Linked DNA regions of Homo sapiens: regions 1, 2 and 3 are each linked to region 4. The links are contacts of gene promoters, found by promoter capture Hi-C in human tissues and cell types (Jung and others, 2019). All regions are on one chromosome and are shown on one strand. The core of a region is centred on a gene start or on the middle of the fragment in contact, and the rest is flanking DNA. Distances in the headings are between cores, read along the strand shown. Region 1 overlaps SUSD1 (sushi domain containing 1). Region 2 overlaps SUSD1 (sushi domain containing 1). Region 3 has its middle 32 kb from the start of LINC02977. Region 4 holds the start of KIAA1958.

Region 1 (3,372 bases), core at 210-2,709, 410 kb after region 4:
CCTCTTCACATCTGTGACCCCCACTTCACACATGCTCTGAGCAAATACTAAGCATATTAGCTTCTTGATTCTTATTTCACTGAGAAATTAGAAGTAGTCAGGTGAGGACTTCCCACGCTCAGCCCTGCCGTTCCTCCTTGCATCCTGTTCTGCCTCCCTTCCTGTCCCTGCTCGTGTGTAAGGCTGCCATCCCCTCAACTTGTGCCTTAGATCCCATCCCTTCTTCCCTGATCAGCACTTCCCCTCAATACAGAATTATCCCCAGCATTGCCTAGCATGTTGCAACATCCTCCTTGTGAACGAAAAGAAAGAAAAAATGAGCAGACCTTCTTTGAGCCCATATTTGTCTTCAGCTACTTTGCCTTCTCTCTGCCCCTTTCTATAAAAACTCCTTGAAAGAAATGGCTGTTCTGTAGGCTCCACAGCCCTACCTCCTGTTCTCACTTTCACTCATCCCACGTGGGAAACATACGTCTTCATTGCTTTACTGAAAGGCTCTTCGTTTGATCTCCGTCTTGCCAAATCCAATGGCCAGTTTTGTTCTTATCTGATTTCTTCGATAGCGTTGACACTCCCTCCCTCTTGAAACCCCCTCTCCCTTAGTTTTGGTTCCTTCTGCCTTGCTGTCCCCTCTCAGTCTTCTTTGCTAGCTCCATCTACTTTTATGACCCCTCTTCAGCCTCCTTTTCTTCATTATCTACCCTTTCTGCTTAGGTGATCTCAACCAGTCTTATGGCTATAACTATTACCTATATGCAGAGGATTTCCAAAGATCAATTTCTAGTCCCAGCCTCTCCTTTGAGCACCAGACTCCTATATCCACCCAACTTCTACACATGTCCTATTGAACATCTAATACGCAAATCAAACGGAACTTGTGATTTCTCACCTCTGCCCTCGCCCCCAAATCGGTTTCCACCCAGGCTTCTCTGTTTCTATCTGTTACTTTCTGTCTGTTATTGGAATTTCTGTTCACCCAATTGTTCAGACCAAAAACAAGTCCTAATTGGTTCTATCCCATCCCCAAATTTCTAATCTGTCAACAAGCCCTGTTGGCTTGCTGTCTGAAATATATTCTGAATTCCACCACTTCTCCCCACCTGTGCCTTTTCCACAACTACCCTAATCCAAGACAGCCACCTCTTGCTTGGATTCCTGCTGTAGTTTTCAAACTGGTTTTCTCTTGCCTATATACCTCCCACCCTGGACCTTAGTCTTAGTCTTCACCATAACTTTCAAAAGATCACTCAGCACTCAGAGTGATCTTTTAAAAATGCATTTGGGAACATGTCAGCACCAGCTCAAAACTCTCCAGTGAGTTTCCATTAAAGTTAGAATGGAATCCAAGTTCCTCATCATAGGACATGTCATCTGGCCCCTGCCTACTTCTAATTCATCTCCCCCTGCTCTCCTCCTTTCCCATTAAGCATCAGCTGTCTCCCTGGCCTTCTTGCAGTTCCTTCAATGGGTCAAAGTTTTTCCAGCCTCCAGACTTTTCCATCTGCAGTTCACACTTCCTGGGACACTGTCAACATATGGCTTCTCCATAGTTGTTCAGGTGCCTGCTCAACTGCCATCACCAGCCTCCACGCTAGTACTCTGTATCTACTTACCCTGCTTCAATTTCTTCATAGAGCTTCATATTAATAAAAAATATTAATTATTAGTTTTTAGAGATAGGGTCTCACTCTGTCACCCAGGCTGGAGTGCAGTGGTGCAATCATAACTCACTGCAGCCTTGAGCCCCTGGGCTGTAGCAATCCTTCTGCCTCAGCCTGCTGAGTAGCTGGGACTATAGGCGCTCACCACCATGCCTGGCTAATTACAAAAGGGATTTTTTTGTTTTTATTTTTTGTAGAGATGAGGGTCTCCCTATGTTGCCTAGGCTGGTCTTGAACTTCTGGCCTCAAGTGATCCTCCCATCTCACCTCCCAAAGTGCTGAGATTATAGGCATGAGTCTCTGTGCCCAGCCTAGAGCTTGTTTTCTAAAAACTTATTTTTTTTTTATTTTCTTTCTCTCCCACTAAAATAGGAGCTTCCTGAAGACAGTGATTTTTGTCTGTATGTTTTACATTCAACCCTCAGTGGGTAAGAATGGTACTGATAGATAGCATAACAGCCCAAAATTTTAAAATAACAGCCAGTGGGTGGTATTGGTGTTGAGGAGATGTCTGGTTAGGCAATGAATTCTGGCTACCAGAAAGAATTCCCCACATTTTGGGCTGGAGAGACAAGTGGTGTTCAGTCTGGGCATTTCTTTCTGTGGTGACTTATTAAAATGAATAGCGACTCCATCTCCATTTCCTACTCTGTGGTCTTTCTCATATTTGGATGCTGTGCTTTTCTGGTTTGAAGGACCGTTGCATATTTTTTTGAGTAAAGGGGAGGGGGTTTCATCTTGATGAGACACTTACTCCTTGTTTGGTAGGCTGAATAGAGCTTTAGTGGCTCAAGTTCCCTCTCTCTGTGCTCATGGCCACCAGGGGACATTGTTGAGCTGTTTAATGTTCATTGAGATGCCTATTTTCCAACTCTACCCACTTTAAAGGACTCGTAATTTTAAAGAAGCATAAAAAAATCAAGTTGCTTTGATCTTATGAAAGAGTTAAAAAAAAAAAAAAACCAACCCCTTTCTTTTATAAAAGGAGGAAAAAAGAGAAGCTTATGTGTTGATGTGCAGAGATACTCGTGGTTTCCTAAGAAGTGTGTGGCCTTATTTCGGTAAAATCATGAACTTTTGAATTTTGGCAGATGTGTTAGGCTAAGGATTTGGGTCTGGACAATGTAGCTGCTCATTTCCCAGAAGGAAAGAGAGTGGAATTTCCCTTCTGAGTGTCTTACGTTAAATCTTACTGATGGGAACAGGATGAAAACAAGTGCTTTAAATACATCGCTGACCTCAGAGGACAGTGAAGGTTCTAGGAATGTTGAGGGACAGAGGCAAGTGTTTCGGTGAATGCAGGAAAGCAGGGGCTGGCGAGGGGGTGGGTGAGATGGAGCTGTGGCCTCACGGTGTTTCTGACTCTTGGCTGATAGGCTGCAGACGGCACATTGAACTGAATTCTTCAGGATAGCCCCACGGCACGCATCCCCTTTAGGACAGGGTGAGGAACAAACTTTCATCCTTGATGCAGGCCCCAAAGAGTCAGAAGAGCATCCACATGTTGAGTGTGCTATTTTCTTTTTCTTTTTTTTTGTTTTGAGACAGAATTTCGCTCTGTCACCCAGGCTGGAGTGCAGTGGCGTGATCTGAGCTCACTGCAACCTCCACCTCCTGAGTTCAAGTGATTCTTATGTCTCAGCCTCCCAAGTAGCTGGGATTACAGGTGTGTGCCACCACGCTTGGCTAATTTTATATGTTTAGTAGAGAT
Region 2 (3,471 bases), core at 727-3,226, 360 kb after region 4:
AAATAGTTTTTTAATGTTTCTTAATTGTGTTAACACACAAAAAACATACAATTTAACATCTAATATAGTTTTATTTCTTTTTTTGAGATGGAGTCTTGCTCTGTCACCCTGGCTGGAGTGCACTGGCACGATCTCAGCTCACTGCAACCTCCACCTCCTGGGTTGCAGTGACCAAGTGATTCGCCTGCCTCAGCCTCCCGAGTAGCTGGGAATACAGGTGCCCACCACCATGCCCAGCTAATTTTTGCATTTTTAGTAGAGATGGGGTTTCACCATGTTGCCCAGGCTGGTCTCGAACTCCAGGTCTCAAGTGATCTGCCTGCCTAGGCCTCCTAAAGTGCTGGGATTACAGGTGTGAGCCACCATGCCTGGCTTACCATCTAATATAGTTTGGATGTTTGTCTCCTCCATATCTCATGAGAAATGTGGTCTCCAGTGTTGGAGGTGGGGCCTGGTGGGAAGTGTTTGGGTCATGGGGGTAGATCACTCAGGAATGGCTTTGTGTCCTCCCCTTGGTGATGAGTTCTTGCTCTTAGTTCACATGAGAGCTGATTGTTAAAAGGAACCTGGCACCTCCTTCTCTCTTTCTGGCTCCCTCTCTTGCTGTGTGACATGCCTGCTCCCTCTTCACCTTCTGCCACGATTGTCAACTTCCCAGGGCCCTCACCTGAAGCAGATGCTGGTGCCATGCTTCTTGTACAGCCTGCAGAACCATGAGCTGGATAAACCTCTTTTCTTTATAAATTACCTAGTCTCAGGTATTCCTTTATAGCAACATGAAACTGATGAATACACCATCTTAACTATTTTTAAGTGTGCAGTTCAGTAGTGTTTATGTATACCAATCTTGTTGCACAACCAATCTCCAGAACTTTTTCATCTTGCAAAACTGAAACTTTATACCCATTAAACAACAACTCCCCATTTGCCCCTCCCCACAGCCCCTGGAACCTCACCCTTCTACTTTCTGTCTCTTGTGAATTTCACTACTGTAGGTATCTCATATGGTACTTGTTCATTTGAGACTGGCTTATTTCACTAAGCATAATGTCTTTAAGATACATCCATGTTGTAACATGTGTCAACATTTCCATTCTTCATATAGTCCATTATATGAGTATCCCATGTTTTGTTTATCCATTCATTTGTTGATGGACACTTGGGTGTGTGTTCCATCTTTTGGCTATGATGAATAATGCTGCTATGAAATGTGTGTACAAATCTCTCTTTGAGACCCTGTTTTCAATTCTTTTGGATATATATCCAGAAGTGGAATTGCTGGTGAAAAGGAGTCTTGAGGCCTGGTGCAATGGCTCATACCTGTAATCTCTGTACTTTGGGAGGCTGAGGCAGTGGATCACTTGAGGTCAGGAGTTCAAGACCAGCCTGGCCAACATGATGAAACCCCATGTCTACTAAAAATACAAAAATTAGCCGGGTGCAGTGGCTCACACCTGTAATCCCAGCACTTTGAGAGGCCAAGGCAGGAGGATTGCTTGAGCCCAGGAGTTCAAGACCAGCCTGGGTGACATAGAGAGACCCCATCTCTACAAAAAATTAAAAATTTGCCAGGTGTGGCGGTGCACACCTGTAGTCCCCAGTACTCAGGTGGCTGATGCAGGAGAATTGCTTGAACCCAGGAGACAGTCGTAAGCCAAGATCACATCCCTGTACTCCAGCCTGGGGGATAGAGCGAGACTCTGTCTCAATTAAAAAAGGAGTTTTGAGACTTCACTTCATATTCTAGCAATGCCATATATTAGCTGTGTGTCATTAGGCCAGGCATTCTGAGCCTCGGTTTCCTCATCTATAAAAGAGGGAAATAAAGTCTGTTTTTCTTACCTCAGAGAGTGTTGAAAAGGAATCGAATAAGATAATCTGTGGGGCGCATTTTAGAAAGCTGAAAGCACCATGCACATGTTAGTCTTTTTCCTAAAGTTGTTAGCCTCATGTGAAGATCTTCTCATGAATCAGAAGCGTGTACTTCTACATGATTCATTTCACACCTCTGCCTCTGAGGAACAAGGTGAGAAAAGGCAATGATTCTTACCATTTGTGGTGGTTGATCAGAAGGTATGACAAATGGTTGTCACATAGTCCCTGGGAATATATTTCTGGCTGTTGACTTGCTTGGCTCTGAAGACAGGTCTCTGAAGAGTGAAATCTCCAGGAGCTTTGATCTGGGTCTCTGGTTTGACTAGCAGCAGAATTGTGGTCTTGCCCACCAACATTTTCCATCGGAAATTCTGGCCAGAGCAAACAAGACATGTAGGCCCCTGGGGATTATTTGTCCATAGAGCAGTGGTTCATAACGATGTTGGGGATGGGAATTTGAGGAAATCTGTCCATTCATTCAATAGATATCTATTTAGCATACACTATTTGTCAGGTACTTTGTCGGCATGACCCTCTTGGAATTTACAGTGCAACAGGGGAAACAGACCTTTTCCCCAAAGGTATGCACATACACATACACATATAATGTTTTACAAGTAGCAAGGTGTTCCTGGACCTCTGAAATCCTTGAGTAAAGCATTCTTGGGATAGATGGAAAGCTCACCTCTGCTGTTGAGGCCCTGTATGTGCCATGCAATTCCTATATTTGGTTATCTCCATCGCGAATTCAAGAGGATGTAGGCCAGAGACTGCAATCAGAAAAACAAAGAAGGGTAGAGCTGGATAAGAACCCAGAGATACAATGCAGTCTTCTCTTAGAGAGGTCTCATTGACTTGCCCAGCCTGCACAGAGGAGCAAGGGCAAACGTGTAACTGACACCAAAGACTCTAGGGGGGTCCAGTCTTAATAATTGGAGCTAATGCCACGCTGGACTAGACTGATGGTCACTCCAACCTATCATGGCATTTGCAAAAGCATCTCCAAGAGTTATTTGGAGGAGGTGAGGTAGCTGCCTCCTGGAATGCTGAATTCAATGTTTGGGGAAGTATTCCCGACACAGAACAACTGCTGGAGTCACTTGGTAAGAGCTGGGTATAGCTTGTGAGCCTCAGCCATTTGCTTCATTGCTCAAGCTGCTCTGCCTCCAACATTCAGCAGTCAATGGGGGTATAAGAATTAGTCACCGCATGAAAAACCAGTGGATCTGCATGGGGCATAGTAAGCTATTAATTAGCTGATGCTTGTAGAGCACTTTGAAGAACAAACATGTTATGTAACTGCTAATTATAATTACCATCCTCAGCCTGCTACCTTTCACAAAGTCTGTGGCTCCAGCTGCAGCTGTTTCCATGGGTTTATGCAAGCTTTGATTTAAGAAAAGAAAAGGCATTCTCCCTGAGAGCTGTGATCTTTCTGTGAGGAGGCCTTTATGCCCTCAATCAGGATTGGCAGCTAAATTCAATTTCCGCAGATAAAGGGGATGATTTACATGCTGATTAATTCATGGTACAGTGCAGATGATCTCTGGGTGGGTAGGTAGGAGAGGCTTCTGGTAATGTAGTGAGAGCTGCTGA
Region 3 (3,475 bases), core at 648-3,147, 480 kb after region 4:
CTGGACTTTGAGGCTGCAGTGCGAGACGATTGCACAATTTCCCTCCAGTCTGGGTGACAGAGCAAGACCCTGTCTCTAAAATAAAAAAAAGTTATGAGTTATGTTTACACTATACTGGAGTCTATTAAGTGTGCTATCACATTATGTCTAAAATATGGACTTATCTTAATTTAAAAATACCTTATTGCTAAAAATGCTAATGATCATGTGAGCCTAATGATCATCTGAGCCATTTAGCAAGTCATAATATTTTTGCTGGTGAGGGGGGTCTTGCCTCAATGTTGCTGACTGCTGACCCATCAGGGTGGGGATTGCTAAAGGTTGCGGTGGCTGGGAAAATTTCTTAACTAAGACAACAATGAAGTTTGTTGCATTGGTTGATTCTTCCTTTCATGAAAGATTTCTTGGTAGCGTGCAATGCTGTTTAATAGCATTTTACTAACAGTAGAGCTTCTTTCAAAAATGGAGTCAATCCTTGCAAACCCTGCCAGTACTTCTTCAACTAAGTTTATGTAATATTCTAAATCCTTTGTTATCATTTCAACAGTGTTCACAGAAAATTCACCACATGTCAATTTCATCTCAAGAAACCACTTTCTTTACTCATACATATGAAGCAATTCCTCATTCATTCACGTTTTATCATGAGATTGCAGTAATTCAGTCACATCTTCAGGCGCCACTTCTAATTCTAGTTCTCTTGTTATTTCCACCACATCTGCAGTGACTTCCCCCCACTAATGTATTGAACCCCTCAAAGTCATCCATGAGGGTTAGAATCAGTTTCTTCCAAACTCCTGTTAATATTGATATTTTGACCTCTTCCTATGAATCACAAAAGCTTTTTTTTTTTTCTTAATTGAGACAGAGTTTCACTCCTGTCGCCCAGACTGGAGTGCAATGAAGCAATCTGGGCTCACTGCAACCTCCACCTCCCGAGGTCAAGCAATTCTCCTGCCTCAACCTCCTGAGTAGCAGGGATTATAGGTGCCTGCCACCACGCCCAGCTAATTTTTGTATTTTTAGTAAAGACAGGGTTTCACCATGTTGGCCAGGCTGGTCTCGAACTCCTGATCTCAGGTGATCCACCCACCTCAGCCTCCCAAAGTGCTGGGATTACAGGCGTGAGCCACCGCACCCGGCCCACAAATGCTCTTAAAGGCATTTAGAATGATGAATCCTTACCAGAAGTTTTTCAATTTACTTTGCCCAGATCCATCAGAGGAATCACTGTCTGGCCTTATGAAACGTATGACAGATCCAACCTTATGAAATGTATTTCTTAAATAATAAGATTTGAAAGTCAGAATGACTCCTTGATCCATGGGCTGCAGAATGGATGTTGTGTTAGTAGGCATAAAAATGACATTAATTTCCTTTTATATCTCAATCAGAACTCTTGGGAACTCTTGGGTGACTAGTTACGTTGTCAGTGAGCAGTTATCTTTTGAAAGGGATCTTTTTTCCTGAGCAATAGGTCTCAAGAGTGGGCTTAAAACATTCAGCAAACCAGTCTGTAAACAGATGTTTTGTGATCTAGCACTCTCTACAGGCAGAGTACATTTTGTATAATTCTTAAGACCCTAGAATTTGGGGAATGGTAAATGAGCATCGGTTTTAACTTAAAGTCAACAGCTGTATTAGCTTCTAATGAGAGAGTCAACCTGTCTTCTGAAGCTTTGAAGTCAGGCATTGACTTCTCTCTAGCTGTGAAAGTCCTAGATGGCATCTTCTTCCAATAGAAGGTTGTTTCATCTACAAAATATGTTGTTTAGTGTAGCCACCTTCATCAATGATCTTAGCTACATCTTCTACATCTTCTGGATAACTTGCTATAGCTTCTGTATCAGCACTGCCTCAACTTGTACTTTTTTATGTTATGGAGACAGCCTCTTTCCTTGTGTTTGTTTGTTTGTTTGTTTGTTTGTTTGCTTGTTTGGTTTGTTTGTTTTTTTAGACAGGGGTTTGCTCTGTCACCTAGGCTGGAGTGCAGTGGCATGATCATGGCTCACTACAGCCTTGACCTTCCAGGCTCAAGTGATCTTCCCATTTCAGCCTCCCAAGCAGCTGGGACTATAGGTGAGCACCACCATGCCCAGCCAATTTTAAAAAAATCATTTTTCATAGAGATGAGGTCTTGTTATATTGCCCAGGCTGGTCTTGAACTTTTGAGCACAAGTGATCCTCCCATCTTGGCCTATCAAAGTGCTAGGATTACAGGCATGAGCCACTGTGCTTGGCCAGCTTCTTCCCTTAAACCTCATGAACAAATCTCTGCTTGTTTCAAGCTTTTCTTCTGAAGCTTCCTCACCTCTCTTAGCCTCATAGAACTGAAGAGTCTTAGGCCCTTGTTCTGGATTAGCCTGTGGCTTAAGGGAATGTTGTGGCTGGTTTGATCTTCTATACAGACCGTTTGAACTTTCTCTATATCAGCAATAAGGCTGTTTTGCTTTCTTATCATTCGTGTGTTCACTGAGTAGCACTTTTAATTTCTTTCAAGAACTTTTCCTTTGCATTCACAACTTGGTTGTCTGGCGCATGAGGCTTAGCTATGAGCCTTTTTTGGTTTTTGACATGCCTTCCTCACTAAGCTTAATCATTTCTAGTGTTTATTTAAAGGGAGAAATGTGTGACTCTCCCCTTGACTTGAACACTTACAGACGGATGTGGGGTTATTAATTGATTTAATTTCAGTATCGTTGTGTCTCAGGGGATCCCTATTCCCTATGAAGGCCAAGGAGAGTGAGAGAGACAGAGAAATGGCCAGTTGGTGGGGCAGTCAGTACACACACATTTATCAAGTATGTTTACCATCTTATATGGGCATGGTTTGTGGCACCCCAAAACAGTTACAATAGCAACGTCAAAGATCACAGATCATAAATCACTGTAACAGACATAATAATGGAAAAGTTTGAAATATTTCAAAATTATCAAAATGTGACACTGAGACATGAAGTGAGCACATGCCATTGGAAAACTGGCACCGATAGCCTGCTGGACTCAGGGTTGCCACAAGACTTCAATTTGTAAAAAACACAATATCTGTAAAGTACACTCAAGCAAAGCACAATAGAATGAGATACACTTATACATTTCTTGTGAGTTTCTGAGTTCAGGGACTGAATCTCAGGTAGGTGAGCCATACTGGACAAGAATCAGCACGACCCGGGTTCGAACTCTGGTTCTTCCACTGGCTGTATGACCACTGCCGATCATTAACATTTTCAAGCCTTCATTTCCTCATCTGCAAAATTCCAGCAACAACCCCTATGCCTCCAGAAGTGTGAGAATTAAATGAGATAGTGCCTGAAAGTGCATTTTAGGACCACCTCTGTCTCCTTTGCGGTCCAACGCAGGAGGCATACAAAATTGCTGACGCTCCTGTCTGTGGCTACCACACTGCGGGCAAGATAAGGCCTAGCTTTGGAAAAAACACTTTGCACCACGCATTTTCCCCTTCTTTGGAGGGTTG
Region 4 (3,335 bases), core at 1-2,500:
ACCTGACTGGCTTGTTAGCTGTTTATTTCGTCGGGAGAGGATTCCGTCTTGCGAATCCTAACGAGTTCGGGAAAAAACAAAACTTTACTCCTAAACTTCAAAACACACACACACACACACACACACACACGCACACACACTAAATACATATAATTGTAAAAATCACAGCCACGTTCATTTTTTTTAAAGTCCCAATCTAAAACCTTAAAGAAAAAAAAAGACTTGAAGGAACCAAAAACATTCTTTGATTTTGGTTTGACGTTGTTCAGTCCAACCTCCTCCTACCCAGGGGAATACATTTCTCGATATATTTGATAACAAACACAAATCACTGTGCGCAGCCTCAGATGGGGGTGGGGGGGCGGAAGAGCCTTTTGGAGAAAGCCCTCCTCCGTTAGAAACAATAAATAAGGGAGCGAAGCCATGCACGTTCCTTCACACACGCCCCAAACGCACCTCGGCGAGCCACCCGAGGAGGAAAACTAGTGGGGCAGAGCCCTGAACCACCTCTCTTTCTCCATAAGCATCTCAAGACTTGGAAACTAAGAGGACAGACCTTTTCCTCCTCCTTCCCGCCCTCCTTCCCACCTCCGACAGACCCAAGAGCAGGAGCGGGGGCGCCAGCCCCACGCACTGCGCCTGCAGCCGCCGCTGAGACCCGAGCTGCCGGGCGGCGGGGCGGCCCGGGGCAGGCGGACCGGAGCCGCCACCGGGGGTCTCTGCGCCTCGCACCCCCAAGCCCGGCGCTGCCGACGAGCGGCCGCCCGGGTCCCTGCCCTCGCTCCGGCCTCGCTCCCCCGAGAGGAGACAAAAGGAAGGTTCAGCCGGGTCACCGCGCGGCCGCTGACGGGGAAGCAGAGTCGACCCCGGCGCGGCCGCCCCCCACACAAAGGGGCTCCCCGCCTGGGTCGCGGCGTCGGCGCACTCGTCCCCGCCCCGCGCGCGGGCTCTCACCCACCTGCAGGTGTCTGTGCGTCTGTCCATAGGAACGCGGTCGGCGCGGGGGGGCCTGCGAGAGCCGGGCAGCCCGGGCTGGACGGGACGGGCCGAAGGGGCGCGAGGGCGGGAGGAGAGCGGCCAGAGGGCCGGGCACCAAAGGTAAGTGGAGCGGGGAAGGCGCCCGGCGGGCGGCGGACCGAGGAGCGGGGCGGGGGGCGGGGGCGCCAGCCTGGCTCGGCCGACCGCCGCGCGCCGCTCCGTGCGCCCCGAGCTCCGCGCGCCCGGCTCGGAGCGCGGCGGGCGGGCAGGGGGCGGGGCGCGGGCGGGCCGGGGCGGGGCCGGCGAGCGGGGCGGGGGCTCGGACCCCGGGCTCCAGCCGGCACCGGAAACGCGCCGTGGTCGGCGAGACCCACAGGAAGTGTGTAACGACACCTCCTACGGCACGCACCGAGCTCGCAGTCGTTGCTGCCCCGAGGAGGTGTAGATCGAGCCTCCTGCCGCACACACGTTCGCACGCGGCGGCCGGCGCGCTGGACCGAGAGGTTGGAGCAATCCATCCTCCGCGCGCACGAGCTCAGTCCCTACTGCCCCGACAGGTGTGGAACCCGCCGTCCCCGCTATGGTCCGAGGAAGTGTACAGCACTGCTCCCTACTACACGTCCTGGGCCCGCGGTCCCCGATGCCCCCCGGAGCTCTGTGCACCTCCACTGAAACGCAAGGAGCAGACAGAACCTACACCATCCGTGAGGTGTGTGATTTCCCTTATAACGCATTGAGTAGAGTTACCTCTCCGCCCAGGGATGTGCATTAACACTTTCTACCGAGATACTACGTACAGCCCATAGTCACCGCTGCCCCGTGAAGGTGCCCAACAACCACCTGTAACACACACACCCCTATCCCATCGAGGGAGCGGGGATGCTTAATGATACCTAAAATACACTAAAACTAGGTCCTCCAGCAAACCAGAGACACAAGAACACCACCTACACGACTCAGCACAGCAAAGATGAAGCTGGACTTGCTAGGTGCTACCAGGCTTGGTCCACCTTTATTTTACCTAACACTTTCGTAGTACTTGCTGTGTGCCCACAGTTTGCACTGAGTACTTAGCGAATATTAATTTATTTAATCCTAAGAACTCTACATAGTGGGTGCTATTAACATTGCCATTTTATGATAAGGAAACTGAGGCACAGAGAAATTAAGAAATTTTTTCAACATCACATAGATAGTAGCTAGAGGAGCCTGGATTCATTCCGGACAGTCTGGCTTCAGAGTCTGCTCTTAACTCCCTTTCTATTTACAGCACTGACCATCTCCAAAACAGTAATCATGGTAATAAATAACATTTACACCATATCTGTCAGGCCTTACGTAGTGCCCACATCTTGGCCTCACCTCATCTGTGACAGGCATACCCCAGTCACTTGTACCCTTGGAGTAGGTAAGGGAAGAGAAGAATATTTTTGAGGGAGAGAAAGAAGCTAACTTCTTAGCAAAGGAGAAAATATCCAGGGTCGTCCAGAATCCAAGCAGGTAACTTCATTACCACATCAAGCATGTTCTCTTTTAGGTAGCTTCTGCCAACCCCTCTCCATCTCTAGAGCTGATTCCGGTTGATGTTCTTAACACCTTCCTCTATCAACACTCTTCCAGGTCTAGGCTGAAATTTAAAATCTGTGTAAATGTTGACACAATAATGTTTGTACAAACAAAAAAGACCAAAAATGAAAACCCCCTAGTTAATTGCTGCATATTCTAAAGATGGGATCTTGTGGAGAAATTGGAACTCTTATGCAATGCTGATAGGAATGTAGATGGTACCACCACTATGCAAAACAGTGGGGAAGTTCCTCAAAAAACTAAAACTAGAGCTACCATATGATCCAGCAATCCCACTTCTGGGTAAATATCCAAAAGAATTGAAAGCAGGATATCGAAGAGATATTTGCACATTCATGTTCATTGCAGCACTATTCACAATAGCCAAGAGGTTGAAGCAGCCCAAATGTTCATCAACAGATGAAGAGATGAATGAAAATGTGATATATACATATAATGGAATATTATTCAGCCTTAAAAAGGAAGGAAATCTTATCACAGGCTACAACATAGATGAACCTTGAGGATGTTGTGCCAAGTGCAATAAACCAGTCACAAAAGGACAAATACTGTTATGATTTGACCTATATGAACTATGTAGAGGTATGTAAACTGTGGGATTATGTCAAACTTGTGGAAACAAGACGGTAGAATAGTGGTTGCTAGAGGGTAGAGGGAGGGGAAAATGGTGATATAATGTTTACTGGGTACAGAGTTTCAATTTTGCAAGATGAAAAATTTCTAGAGATGTTACACAATAATGTAAATATAACACCACCGAACTGTACACT

Evidence for each region. Contacts are between HindIII fragments. The study calls those that stand out against the background at their distance.
Region 1: a contact is called between a fragment that was not itself captured here and the fragment with the promoter of KIAA1958 in region 4, in 1 of the 25 tissues and cell types used here (aorta).
Region 2: a contact is called between a fragment that was not itself captured here and the fragment with the promoter of KIAA1958 in region 4, in 1 of the 25 tissues and cell types used here (mesendoderm cells).
Region 3: a fragment that was not itself captured here is called in contact with the fragment with the promoter of KIAA1958 in region 4 in 1 of the 25 tissues and cell types used here (H1 embryonic stem cells).

Annotation. Positions count from the first base shown.
Region 1 is chr9:112,074,046-112,077,417 of GRCh38, reverse strand. The region is part of intron 12 of SUSD1 (sushi domain containing 1); the gene reads left to right. Among named protein-coding and RNA genes, the nearest start is that of LINC02977, 35 kb to the right of the region's middle. RefSeq lists an enhancer at 228-327. The HindIII fragment of the contact is 3,586 bases long and covers 1-3,252 here.
Region 2 is chr9:112,120,421-112,123,891 of GRCh38, reverse strand. All of the region lies in intron 6 of SUSD1 (sushi domain containing 1), which reads left to right. Among named protein-coding and RNA genes, the nearest start is that of SUSD1, 53 kb to the left of the region's middle. RefSeq lists an enhancer at 2,827-3,398. The HindIII fragment of the contact is 3,498 bases long and covers 228-3,471 here.
Region 3 is chr9:112,006,974-112,010,448 of GRCh38, reverse strand. No RefSeq gene overlaps it. Among named protein-coding and RNA genes, the nearest start is that of LINC02977, 32 kb to the left of the region's middle. The HindIII fragment of the contact is 4,293 bases long and covers 1-3,475 here.
Region 4 is chr9:112,484,742-112,488,076 of GRCh38, reverse strand. It overlaps KIAA1958, which reads right to left and starts at 1,250. Exons shown (of 4, transcript NM_133465.4): 1 at 959-1,250. HSDL2-AS1 (HSDL2 antisense RNA 1) reads left to right here and starts at 433. Exons shown (of 5, transcript NR_171779.1): 1 at 433-1,098; 2 at 1,536-1,687. RefSeq lists silencers at 652-1,141, 1,222-1,281 and an enhancer at 1,712-1,771. The HindIII fragment of the contact is 14,239 bases long and covers 1-3,335 here.